Linked DNA regions of Homo sapiens: region 1 is linked to region 2. Evidence: promoter capture Hi-C in 16 types of primary human blood cells and fetal thymus (Javierre and others, 2016). All regions are on one chromosome and are shown on one strand. Each heading gives the region's core, a stretch centred on a gene start or on the middle of the fragment in contact. The rest is flanking DNA. Distances are from core to core; before and after follow the strand shown. Region 1 holds the start of TADA1 (transcriptional adaptor 1). Region 2 holds the start of ALDH9A1 (aldehyde dehydrogenase 9 family member A1).

Region 1 (6,417 bases), core at 1,855-4,354, 1.2 Mb before region 2:
AAGATTTAGAATTAGTTCCTTTAAAGTAACCTTCCAAATTACAAGTGGTTTTAATATTCATTTCCTTTCAAAAAAATTTGTTTTTTAAAGTTGAGGTCTCACTCTGTTGCCTAAGCTGGAGTGCAGTGGTGCTCTCATAGCTCACTGCAGACTTGAACTCCTGGGCCCAAGAAATCCTCTCACTTCAGCCTCCCCAGTAGGTGGGACTACAGGCATGTGCCATCACCCCTGGCTTGGTATTCATTTATAATATTGTGTCCGGCATTGGTTCCTTCCAGTGGGTTCTTGGTCTCGCTGACTTCAAGATGAAGCTGTGGACCCTCGCGGTGAGTGTTACAGTTCTTAAAGATGGTGTGTCCGGAGTTTGTTCCTTCAGATGTTCATATGTGTCCTGAGTTTCTTCCTTCCAGTGGGTTCGTGGTCTCGCTAACTTCAGGAGTAAAGCTGCAGACCTTCACAGTGAGTGTTACAGCTCGTAAAGGTAGTGCAGACCCAAAGAGTGAGCAGCAGCAAGATTTATCATGAAGAGCGAAAGAACACAGCACCCACAGCATGGAAGGCCACCAGACTGTATTCCCGCTGCTGGCTCAGGTGCCCAGCTTTTATTCCCTTATTTGGCCCCGCCCACATCCTGATTGGTCCATTTTACAGAGTGCTGATTGGTGCATTTACAAACCTTTAGCTAGACACAGAGCGCTGATTGGTTCGTTTTTACAGAGTGCTGACTGGTGTGTTTACAAACCTTTAGCTAGACACAGAGCGCTGATTGGTGCGTTTTTACAGAGTGCTGACTGGTGCGTTTACAAACCTTTAGCTAGACACAGAGCGCTGATTGGTGCGTTTTTACAGAGTGCTGACTGGTGCGTTTACAAACCTTTAGCTAGACACAGAGCGCTGATTGGTGCGTTTTTACAGAGTGCTGACTGGTGCGTTTACAAACCTTTAGCTAGACACAGAATGCTGATTGGTGTGTTTTTACAGAGTGCTGACTGGTGCGTTTACAAACCTTTAGCTAGACACAGAACGCTGATTGGTGTGTTTTTACAGAGTGCTGATTGGTGCGTTTACAAACCTTTAGCTAGACACAGAGCGCTGATTGGTGCGTTTACAATCCTTTAGTCAGAAAAGTTCTCCAAGTCCCCACCCAGCCCAGAAGCCCAGGCGGCTTCACCTCTCAATATTAAATTGTTTGGTCAGATGTCCATTTATGTATATTATATTGTCTAACATTACAGTTTAAATGGACATTTAACTGAAAAACTGTAGTAAAATTAGTGTTAATAGGTGTATAAGTGCTGAGAGAGAAAGGGATATTTAATTGAGCTAGACGTATGAGTATTGTCAAGCATGGGTTCAAAAAGAAAATCTTTGAGGCCTATCTTTCTTCGTGGCTAGAGACAAATGAGAAACAGGGATTCTTCCTGGAAGATGTACCCAACTATCTGTAGCCTTTCCTAGTCCTGTTGACTTGATCCTTGAATAGATTCATATATATGTTTGAACCTGATTCAAAAAAAATGGAGGTAGCCAACCATAAGTCTCAAAACCAGCAGAGAGGAGATATGCGTAAAGGGGAAGAGCCATGTGATTTGTTAAAGTCAAGTTAACTAGAATGCTGAGTCCAAGTGTGGGGTTATGTGGGAAGGCCAGTGGTGTGTGAGGTACACAGGTAGGGTGAGTTCAGATCATGAGAACATTTGAATGCTGGAGTCTGGAATTTGTTCAGCAGAGCGTGGGGAGCCATGGAAAACTTAAGTGGATATTTTTTAAATGTGTCAAAACTTACCCAGAGTTTTGACACAGAGAGGAAGACTTTGCCTGACCTTTGTATCTCCTTTCACCTGTGTATCTCCAGTACTCAAAGAGTTCCAGACACATAATAGGAGCTCACTGTATGAATTCAAGTGAAGAGAAGGTGCCCGGCTGGCATTGCAGCCAGGACAGGGCTTGTGGGTTTAGGTTGGGCAGTGAGGAAGTTGAATGAATGAACTTAAGGGGACATCTTTGGAGAAATTACACAAGATCTAAAAGCTATCTAGGATTATTTAAAAAACTTTGGGAGGCAATTTGACAATATACACCAAGGCATTTATAAATATTCCCATCATTTGATCCAGTAATTCTATGTGTGGGACTCTATGCTAAAGTAATAATCCTAAAGGAGGAAAAGTTTTATGCATAAAGAAGTTTTGCTTCATTATGCTATATGCTTCAAAAGCAATATTACAGTATTGCTTTTTAATAGAGAAGAAATGGACACAGTCTAACAATTGGGAAACAAGTTGTGTACCTTCTATCTGTGGGGGTATTTAATATGTTGTCATTAAAATTATTCTAAAGACAATGTAATACTACAGATAAATCCTTAAGTTTAAAAACGTGCAAAATTGAACATAGAATATTTTAAGTCATGGGAGTGTGCGAAGTGAAGGAGAAATCTCTCTCAGTTAAGTGTTTGTCCGGGAGTGGTAAAACACTTTTTCCTTCTTTTTATCTTTATCTTTCTGTGTATTTTCCAAATTTTACATAGTTACCTCATTTACTCAAATACTTATTAAGCATCCACTATGTGCCAGGCGCTGCTCTAGAGAATTGCGGGTAACAGTGAATAAAACACAACTCCTGTCCTCGAGCCATAACATTTACAAGATAAATCAACTAAATGTCATATGAGACGGTTAGTGCTCGGGGAAAAATAAGGCAAGGAAAGAGTAAAACTGATACTGCATTTACTTTTTTAAATGGAGGGGTAAGGTACTCCTCCAGGCAGAAGAACAGCAGGCTGAATTCGGAATTGCCCCAGCGGTAACAGAATGAAAGAGCTTGGGACACGCCAGCCTGTCAGCAACGTTGCAGCCGAGGCGGGGCGCGCGGGTTTAGGATGGGCGCGCGACAAGGTGAAGCGGATCACGTGACTCGAGGGGCGGGAGGAAGAGAGCAGAGTTTGGCCGGGCACCTTCCCTGCGAAAAGGCGGGCGGAGCCGAAAACCAAACAAACGACTTCTGAGAGATTGGGGGCGGGACTGACGGCGGCCGGCTTAGCTTCCAGAGCCAAGGCCTTCCGCCGAGTTGGTTTTTGGGTTGTTGATCGCGGTGGCCGGGCGGTCTGCGGTCGGGCTGAGACACGCGGAGCAATGGCGACCTTTGTGAGCGAGCTGGAGGCGGCCAAGAAGAACTTAAGCGAGGCCCTGGGGGACAACGTGAAACAGTAAGAGCTGCCCTAGCACAGCGTCCAGGCCAACACGCGGGTGCTCTCCTGGCCTCGGGCTGCCAGCCCGCCCCGGAGACGCCCGCGTCGCCCGGGGGCCTGTGCAGCCTGGAGTCCGCGGCGGCGGGGCTTCGGGGTTTCTCCGGCCGGGGCGGGGCGGGCCACCTGAACTCACCGCCCTGGAGAGACCGGGCCTCCTGGGCGCCCGGGAGACATCGGCGGGCGCCGTTGCTCGGGACTGTCTGCCCTGGGTGGGGCGGGAGAAGCGCACTTCGCACCCAAGGGCCTGCTGAGCAGGTGCGGGCCCCAGCGCGGGCGTGCGGGATGCGGGAGGCTGACTTGGGCGGAGTGAGCCGGAGCCCTACGCGTCCAGCCAGAGGGCATAGCGCAGGGCGGCCCGCCCCTGGAGGGCTTCCTGGAGGTGGAGGCCTGTTGAGCTGGTGTGATCTGCTACGGATTATTGGTAAGCTCTTTTGACAGCAATTTCGTAAGGCAGACGGACCCTCTGGTGAAATCACAGTCATTGAACACTACAATTATAGTGATGATAGCAGTAGCGGACATTTTAAACATTTTAAGCTCTCTAAATATATTATCTAATCCTTACAACAGATGTGAGATAGGTACAGTTGTTATTCCCATTTGACAGATGAGAAGACTGAGACCTAGTGCGGACAAGTAACTCTTCAAAAGTCACTGTCAGAGTTGGGACCCACGCTTTTGATTCCCGACTGATGCATTAGAGGGGCTGTAAAGGATCCCAGAGACGCTCAGCCAGACCTTCATCCAGGTTATGGCAGGGGACCTAGTGCACAGTCAGGTTAGGTGCAGAATGGCCAAGGGTAAAATCAGTATCCAGTCAAAGCCAAAGCCAAAGAGCAAAAAAGGAACCTCTGGGATACAAGGAAGAGTTTGGAAATTTTCAAAACGTTGTTATTACAACTTTATTTTTCAAAAATATAGGAAGCAAATATAAACGTTTAAAATTACAGTGCCTGTGTTGTTGCTGCTAGATGGCTTCTCTGGTATTCTACACATTTGCATTACTCAGTGGATGCATACTTTTAAATGATGTTGGTGGAGGAGCAATTTGGGAATACTTAATTTTTCTCCAATACTTTCTTTTCATCCTTCTCTGTTCTTTATTATTACTGGATTGAAATTACTTAGGTTGGATGTCATACATGAATTTTGGAGTTTTTCCTTCATGTGAAATTTTGGGGTGGCAGAGTTGACAGTCTACTTTTCATCCTAACAAGATAATAATGGAAACTATAAAAAGATTAAAATTAAAATCTAAACTGTTATTTTAGCATAATTATTTAATTTTTGGTGAACATTTATTTACGCCCAGAGATATGTTTCACTTTGTGTTTGGGGGTTGGGGTCTTGCTCTGTGGCAGAGGCCGAAGTACAGTGGCCTGATCACACAGTTCACAGCAACCTTGATCTCCTGAGCTCAAGAGATCCTCCCCTGCTGTGAGCCTATAACTGGGACTGTAGGCACGCCCCGCTAATCCTGGCTAAAGTTTTTTTTTTCAGAGACAAAGTCTTGCTGTGTTGCCCAGGCTGATCTCAAATCCTGGCCTCAAGCAGTCCTCCCGCATTGGCCTCCCAAAGTTCTGGGATTACAGGCATGAGCCACCACACCCGACTATAGTGTACCACCGAAAATTGTCTTTCGATATTGATGTTCACTGTGCTTATTGAATTAAATATTCTTACTTATTTTAATAGGTAAAATTGACAGCTTTCACCCTAATTACTGTAGCTTTTTACTTTTGTAATACCGACTGATAAAATTTACCTTTTTTTTTTTTGAGATGGAGTCTTGCTCTGTCGTCCAGGCTGGGGTGCAGTGGCATGATCTCCGCTCACTGCAGCCTCCACCTCCTGGGTTCAAGCACTTCTCTGCCTCAGCCTCCTGAGTAGCTGGGATTACAGGCACCTGCCACCACGCCCGGCTAATTTTTGTATTTTTAGTAGAGATGGGGTTTCACCATCTTGGCCAGGCTGGTCTTGAACTCCTGACCTCGTGAGCCACCCGCCTTGGCCTCCCAAAGTGCTGGGATTACCGACGTGAGCCACCGCGCCCAGCCAAAATTTACATTTTTAAGCACATAAGGGGCATTTCACTCTGTTCCATCTAGAATGCTTACAAATATTTGAAAGCAAACGTTTACATACCAAAATAAATCTGAAGGACCTGGCTTGTGTATGATTGCCTTTAACCCTGATTAGATGCAATGGTGACCTCTGTCATCCCATACTCATCAGTTACAGGTTCAGGGCTGCCAAAAGTGTTTTTGAAGTTAGCATTCCTTATTTAGTTTTTAAAGGCCAAAGCCGACTGTCTGATGTTGGTCAAATACTGATGCTGAAGCTAAATTTGGTGCATCTGGAGTGTGAATCCCCACTAAAATGCAATCAAAAGAGATTTTTATGCCAGAAACAGTTAATGGTAACGTATAGTTCTAAATTTGTTTTTCCATTCTCTCATTGTTCTTTTCCCTTCTCCTTAAAAAGTACCTCTGGGTTAAATAGTCAGTAATACTCTTGTACTGTACAGTCATTTCTTATATTTCCTCCATGAGCAGTTTGCTTTGGTTTGCACAACCTATTTAAGTGTGGTCCTCGGTGGTAGGCAAAACATACAGGGTTATGCACGGAGGCTGGATATGAGTTATTTGCTATTTATCCAGTGGTCTGAACATCCTTCATGTCTGACTGGTTGGGTTGTGTGCCCAAGCTGCTTCCAGGAAGACATGGGCTTTGCTAGGCAACTCACTTTGTATAGTAGCCAGTAGAATGCCATGTTCAAATAGGTGCCTGATTTCTTTTGAGGATTTGATCATATGTTATTTATTTATGCATTTATTTATTTATTTTGAGAGAGAGTCTCACTTTGTCACCCAGGCTGGAGTGCAGTGGTGCGATCTCGGCTCACTGCAACCTCCACCTCCTGGGCTCAAGTGATTGTCCTGCATCAGCCTCCTGAGTAGCTGCGATTACAGGCGCCCACCACCATGTCCGACTCATTTTTGTATTTTTAGTAGAGACGGGGTTTCGCCATGTTGGCCAGGCTGGTCTTGAACTCCTGACCTCAAGTGATCCACATCCCCCTTGGGCTCCCAAAATGCCAGGCTTACAAGCGTGAGTCACTGCGTCCGGCCATGATCATATGTTATTTAATATTCTTTAGGTATATC
Region 2 (6,746 bases), core at 415-2,914:
CCATTCAGTGATCTTGGAAATCTATAGTGCTGCTCGTCACCAACTCCTGATATGTTTCAATTCTGTTTGCAATGGACAATAATAAAATAATATGTGAGTGTGGCCTCAGGTATTCTGAGTTTGGGCACTGCTGTTTCCATCTGAGGACCAAGACCTACACATCTCAGTAGCACTGAAAAAGTGAACAAACTGGTATAGAGTGCCAGAAAACTTGATCAGAATACATTATATATACTCTAAACCTGAAAACCACACTCCCTAATATTGCGCTGGTGAGCTGGCAGGTAAAGGAAAAAACATTGAGAAAGACAGCAGCCCCCAGAAGAGAAACAATCCTAAAAGAAATGTCCAAATTGCCAATTACTTTCTGTTTGTCAAAGTCTCTACTGGAGGTGCATGGAAGTTTGGTGAGAAGAATGAACCTTTGTGCAAGATCCCTCAGCTGACAGACCTGTGAGTGCCTCTGGGTGGCTGCTTTGTCTTACAGAAGGCATTTTGTTTCCTGACACTTTTTCCTGTGGCCTTTGCTCTTCGTATTCTGTATGTTAGGCTTCTGTTTCTATCAATATTTGTCATTAATAGCATTTACATTGCTCCTTCAGAATTTATTTATTTTGAGACAGGGTCTCGCTCTGTTGCCCAGGCCTGAGTGCAGTGGCACGATTATAGCTCACTGCAAGCTTGGACCCCCGGGGCTCAGGGGATCCTCCCACCTTAGCCGCCCAAGTACCTGGGGCCACAGGCGTGTGCCACCACACCTGGATAATTTTTTTTTTTTCTGAGTTTCACTCTTGTCACCCAGACTGGAGTGCAATGGCATAGTCTCGGCTCACTGCAACCCGTCTCCCGGGTTCAAGCGATTTTCCCACCTCAGCCTCCCAAGTAGCTGGGATTACAGGCGCCCGCCACCACACCCAGCTAATTTTTGTATTTTTAGTAGAGACGGGGTTTTACCATTTTGGTCAGGCTGGTCTCGAACTCCTGACCTCAGGTGATCTGCCCGCCTTGGCCTCCCAAAGTGCTAGGATTACAGGCGTGAGCCACCGCGCCCGGCCCAATTTTTATTATTTTTATTTTATTTTTTTATAGACACGGGATCTCTCTCTGTTGCCCGCAAACTCCTGGGCTCAAGCGATCCTCCAGCCTTGGTGAGAGCCACAGCGCCCAGTCTCTCTTTAAGAATTTAAAAAGCAGTTTCAGATCACAATATCATCTATCTCGTTCACAGTCCCCTTGCTTTTTACTGTCACCCTTTAAAAAGCATTATACAATTACAGAAACGGTGGTTTAGCAGTGAAGTAACCACCAAAGACTCTTGGCACTCCAATCCTCTGCCTTCTTCAGGCGATAGGATTAAGAATGGGATCCTAGGATGCTTACATGCAATGATGAACCCGAAAACACTTGCAAAGTGCTACGCAAATATTGATCACGAAGAAGGAAGTCCTCTTCCCGCCTGGAGACTGTGTGGGGTATGGCGGGGTGGTGGGGAGAATGTGGTGTCTTGCTCCACCCTCCTGGCGAGGGGAGGGCCTGGCCTGGACCGCAGAGGAATCGAGTGACTGCCCCTAAAATCTCCTAGAACCGATCCCGCGGCCCCGCCCCTCCCGCGGCCCCGCCCCTCCCGCGGCCCGTCAGCCTCTGCCGCGGAGCTGCGTCCGCCACTCATGTTTCTCCGAGCAGGCCTGGCCGCGCTCTCCCCGCTTCTTCGCAGTCTTCGGCCCTCTCCTGTCGCCGCCATGAGCACTGGCACCTTCGTCGTGTCGCAGCCGCTCAATTACCGCGGCGGGGCCCGCGTGGAGCCGGCGGACGCCTCCGGTACCGAGAAAGCTTTCGAGCCAGCAACCGGTAACTGCAACGAGCCGGGGAGGCTGGGGCGCCCTGGGGCCGGATGCGCGGATTTCCCGGCCAGCCCCCGTTTCCTGTGTTCTGCAGCGTTGACTTGAGCACAAGACAGTGACAGTGGAGAGTCTAAGGTTGTGTGTGTAGGCAACTAGCGATTCTGGGGCAACGCGAGTGCCTCCGGGCAGGGATGGGTAGGGAGGAAAAGCAAAGCTGATGAGTTGCGTGGTAGGATCGTGAGTTGTTTTACCCGGGCCAGAACAGAGTTCGCAAAGTACTGGTGGGGGAAGTCGTGCCTCTGTTAACTTCCTTTTTTGTTTGTTTTGTTTGTTTGTTTGTTTTTTGTTTGTTTTGAGACAGGGTCTCACTCTGTCGCCCAGGCTGGAGTGCAGGGGCACCATCTCAGAGCTCACTGCGCCCTCTACCTTACGGGCTCAAGTGCTTCTCCCGCCTCAGCCTCCCTGGTAGCTGGGATTACAGGCTCCCACCACCATGTCCGGCTAATTTTTGTATTTTTAGTAGAGACGGGTTTTCAGCATGTTACTCAGGCTGGTCTCGAACTCCTGAGCTTAGGTGATCCTCCCGCCTCAGCCTCCCAAAGTGCTGGGATTACAGCCGTGAGCCACCAAGCCCAGCCAACTGTTCCCCCTTTTAAAACCAGGACTGATGTATTATTGTCTTCAAATGTGTGCATAGGAGAGGAATTCTAAAAGAACGGGGCGGGGTTGTGGGGAAGATAATCATTTGTGCTGGGAATGAAGGAACGCTCACAGATAGTTTCTAATGACTACGAATGAGGACTTTGTCTCCACATTCTAATATTAAAATATTTCTGCACATTAATCAGAATTGGGAAAGGAAAAAACCCCACCTTTATTCAGTACTTTCTTCCCCAGCTTTATTGAAGTATAATTAACAAATAAAAATTGTATATACTTAAGGTGTAAAACGTGTTGTAATGTATGTATACCTTGCAAAATGGTTACCACGGTCAATCTAATTATCCATTGCTTCTGCATAGTTAATGGCTTTTTTTGGATAGTGAAATATTTAAGATCTATTCTTTTAGCAAATTTCAAGTATATGATGCAGTATTGGTAACCATAGTCACCATGGTCTACGTGAGCTCTCCACAATTTATTCATCTTGCTGAAATAAAACTTTTTAATCCAGTGCTTAATGTGTGCTAAGCACTGTGCTAGGCACTGGATTTACTCTGGGAACTCTGAAGGTCACAGAGATAAGGAAGAAGGGGCTTTTTGTTTTGGTTTTGTGTTGTGTTTATTTTGCTGGGTTTTATGGAATATATGTGGGGAGAAAAATGTAAATATTTTGTGTAAAATGTAGCCAGAGCAATAAAACTGATTTGCAGGGGACTGGAGAATTTAGTATTTGACCATCCACACTAAACCACAGAGCAGTGACTTGGCAGAGCCAGAAGGCATTATCACATCTCTTCTTTATATAGGAGGAAACAGCTTCTCTACCCCGACTTAATCCTGATACAAAAGAAAGAAAAATTGCTCTTTGCTTTAATTGCCTACAGTGTGTGTGATCCTCAGCCACCGCCTTTACCAGCTGGCTATTCAAGTTTGTAACAGAAATTGCAGATTTGTGAAATCTCCCTGGAAAGAGTCCCAGGAGTTCTTGTGAAGAGGATTTGCTGAGTTGGCAAACTTAAAGAATTCTTGTTGGTAGAGGCAGTACAGTCCTTGGGCTATGGGCCTAGAAAAACTGATTGTTTCATAATTTGCACCAGAATAGGGAGAGGGAATAAAGGTGGAATAAGAAAAGGAAATCTGGGAATTTTTGAGAAAAAAAAAATGTTCCTTTAGGGTTGCCTTATCCTGATATTACTGCTTATTAACTATATTTATCAAGTATCAAGTAGTATGATATAACCTACATAGAATATAGACAAGGGATTTACAGTCAGAGTTTATAACCCAATAGACTGATTACTTTTGACTTTCATTTTACAAGACCCCTGAGATTCTGAGATAATGTTTAGGAGTGTTGCAAAACTTAATCAGAAGTTAATGTTAGTAAACTCAACTGTAAAATAGTAGAGGGCAGGGGTTCTTAACTCTAAATCCTTGATGAGTTTAGGGCAGGGGACATGACATTCCTGTAATTCTGTTATATGTTTAAGTAGATTTTTCTGGAGAGAGGTCTGCAACTTTTATCAGACTCCTAATGTCAATGACCGCAAAATACAGTTAAGAACTGCTAGGCCGGGTGTGGTGGCTCATGGCTGTAATCCCAGCACTTGGGGAGGCAGAGGTGGGTGAATCACTTGAGGTCAGGAATGTAAGACCAGCCTGGCCAACATGATGAAATCCCGTCTCTACTAAAAATACAAAAATTAGCTGTGTGTGGTGGCAGGCGCCTGTAATCCCAGCTACTCGGGAGGCTGAGGCAGGAGAATTGCTGGAACCCAGGAGGCAAAAGTTGCAGTGAGTCAAGATCGTGCCATTGCACTCCAGCCTGGGTAACAAGAGCGAGACTCCGTCTTAAAAAACAAAAAAACAAAACAAAAAAACCTGCTAGTATAGAGATGGTCACTAAATCAAACCATACATAAAAACAAGAAGTTACGGTAGCCCACGCCTGTAATTCCGGCACTTCGGGAGGCTGAGGCGGGTGGGTCACAAGGTCAGGAGATCAAGACCATCCTGGTCAACATGGTGAAACCCGGTCTCTACTAAAAAATACAAAAAATTAGCTGGGCGTAGTGGCGTGCACTGGTAGTCCCAGCTACTCAGGAGGCTGAGGCAGGGGAATCGCTTGAACTCAGGAGGCAGAGGTTGCAGTGAGCCGAGATCGCGCCACTGCACTCCAGCCTGGGTGACAGAGCAAGACTCCATCTCAAGAAAAAAAAAAAAAAAAAAAAAAAGACTACTACTAAGAGAATATTGATAGATAATATTTTATTTAAATATGTGGCAACAATTTGAGTTAAAACTGATGTTTCCGCTCTTTATAGGCCGAGTGATAGCTACTTTCACATGTTCAGGAGAAAAGGAAGTAAATTTGGCTGTTCAAAATGCAAAGGCTGCTTTTAAAATATGGAGTCAAAAATCTGGCATGGAGCGTTGCCGAATCCTTTTGGAGGCTGCCAGGATAATAAGGGTATGTTCCAATTTATTTCCTTCCAGAACTCAGACATTGCTCTGAGGTTTCTTTGTGATGTTTGCAGTTCGACTTTGTTGCAACATTAGGCCGTAACGTTTTTATAAAATGGAAAAACATTTCCACATGCTCACCTTAGTATATAAAACAAGTTTTTGTTCAATACTTCCCATCTGGATGTTGGCTCTTGGACATCTCCTTTGGCAGGTTTTCATGTTTGTAAAGCTTTGTTTTGAATTATAATGCACTCTTTATAGCTCATCGTCCTTTTTTTATTTTTATTTTTTTTTTTTTTTGAGACGGAATCTTGCTCTGTCGCCCAGGCTGGAGTGCAGTGGAGTGATCTCGGCTCACTGCAACCTTCGCCTCCCGGGCTCAAGCAATTCTCCTGCCTCAGCTTCCCAAGTAGCTGGGACTACAGGTGTGTGCCACCATGCCTGGCTAATTTTTGTATTTTTCGTAGAGATGGATTTCACCATGTTGGCCAGGCTGGTCTTGAACTCCTGACCTCAAGTGATCCACCCACATCGGCCTCACAAAATGCTGGGATTACAGGCGTGAGCCACTGTGCCCAGCCTTTCTTTCTTTTTAAACCATGTGGTTTACTTGTTTCCTTTTTATTCTTTATTTTGATGATTCTCAAGTCTACCTTTCTTTTTCAGATTTGTTTTCAGATAGGGTTTTAAGTATCGTTACTTTAATTGGGAAGATTTCATAGATTTGTAGATGTTCCCTTTAAAAAAAAGAGAGTTAAACTTTTTTTTTACATCATAAATATATACAATTTTTATTTGTCAACTAAAAAAAATTGTAAAAACAAGTATTTAATACTCATCGCAAAACATAAAAAGCCTGCAATGCAAAGGGTTTCTGTGGTGTAGTAGTTACCACGCTGGCCTAACACACGGAAGGTCCTCTGTTTGAAACTTGACGGAAACAAAAGGTTTCTTTTGTTTCCCAGAATCTGACCAGGCTGCCTCTTCCTGGGAGTCCAGAGCTGCGAGGAACAAGTGATAATCCTGCCTCCTTTTTTTTTTTTTTTTATACTTAAGTTCTAGGGTACATGTACACAATGTGCAGGTTTGATACATAGGTATACAAGTGCCATGTTGGTTTGCTGCACCCATCAACTCACCATTTACATTAGGTATTTCTCCTAATGCTATCCCTCCCCCAGCCCCCCACCCCCTACGGCCCCGGTGTGTGATGTTCCCCACCCTGTGTCCAAGTGATCTCATTGTTCAATTCCCACCTATGAATGAGAACATGCAGTGTTTGGTTTTCTGTCCTTGTGATAGTTTGCTCAGAATGATGGTTTCCAGCTTCATCCATGTCCCTGCAAAGGACATGAACTCATCCTTTTTAATGGCTGCATAGTATTCCATGGTATATATGTGCCACATTTTCTTAATCCAGTCTATCATTGATGGGCATTTGGGTTGGTTCCAAGTCTTTGCTCTTGTGAATAGTGCTGCAATAAACATACGTGTGCATGTGTCTTTATAGTAGCATGATTTATAATCCTTTGAGTATATACCCAGTAATGGGATGGCTGGGTCAAATGGTATTTCTAGTTCTAGATATTTGAGGAATCGCCACACTGTCTTCCACAATGGTTGAACTAGTTTACAGTCCCACCAACAGTGTAAAAGTGTTCCTATTTCTCCACATCATCTCCAGCACCTGTTGTTTCCTGACTTTTTAATGATTGCCATTCTAACTGGTGTGAGATGGTATCTCATTGTGGGTTTGATTTGCATTTCTCTGATGGC

The links. The method cuts DNA at HindIII sites, captures the fragments that hold promoters and counts their contacts. A CHiCAGO score of 5 or more calls a contact.
Region 1: the fragment with the promoter of TADA1 here is called in contact with the fragment with the promoter of ALDH9A1 in region 2 in 1 of 17 cell types (M1 macrophages); the score reaches 7.6 in M1 macrophages.

Annotation. Positions count from the first base shown.
Region 1 is chr1:166,872,951-166,879,367 of GRCh38, reverse strand. TADA1 (transcriptional adaptor 1) reads left to right here and starts at 3,104. Exons shown (of 8, transcript NM_053053.4): 1 at 3,104-3,208. The coding sequence starts at 3,135. RefSeq lists an enhancer at 2,718-2,767 and silencers at 3,168-3,217, 3,248-3,647. The HindIII fragment of the contact is 11,749 bases long and covers 1-6,417 here.
Region 2 is chr1:165,693,480-165,700,225 of GRCh38, reverse strand. It overlaps ALDH9A1 (aldehyde dehydrogenase 9 family member A1), which reads left to right and starts at 1,664. Exons shown (of 11, transcript NM_000696.4): 1 at 1,664-1,848; 2 at 4,829-4,974. The coding sequence starts at 1,668. It also overlaps the pseudogene CA14P1. RefSeq lists enhancers at 1,229-1,408, 1,273-1,855, 1,699-1,928 and a silencer at 1,479-1,668. The HindIII fragment of the contact is 1,150 bases long and covers 683-1,832 here.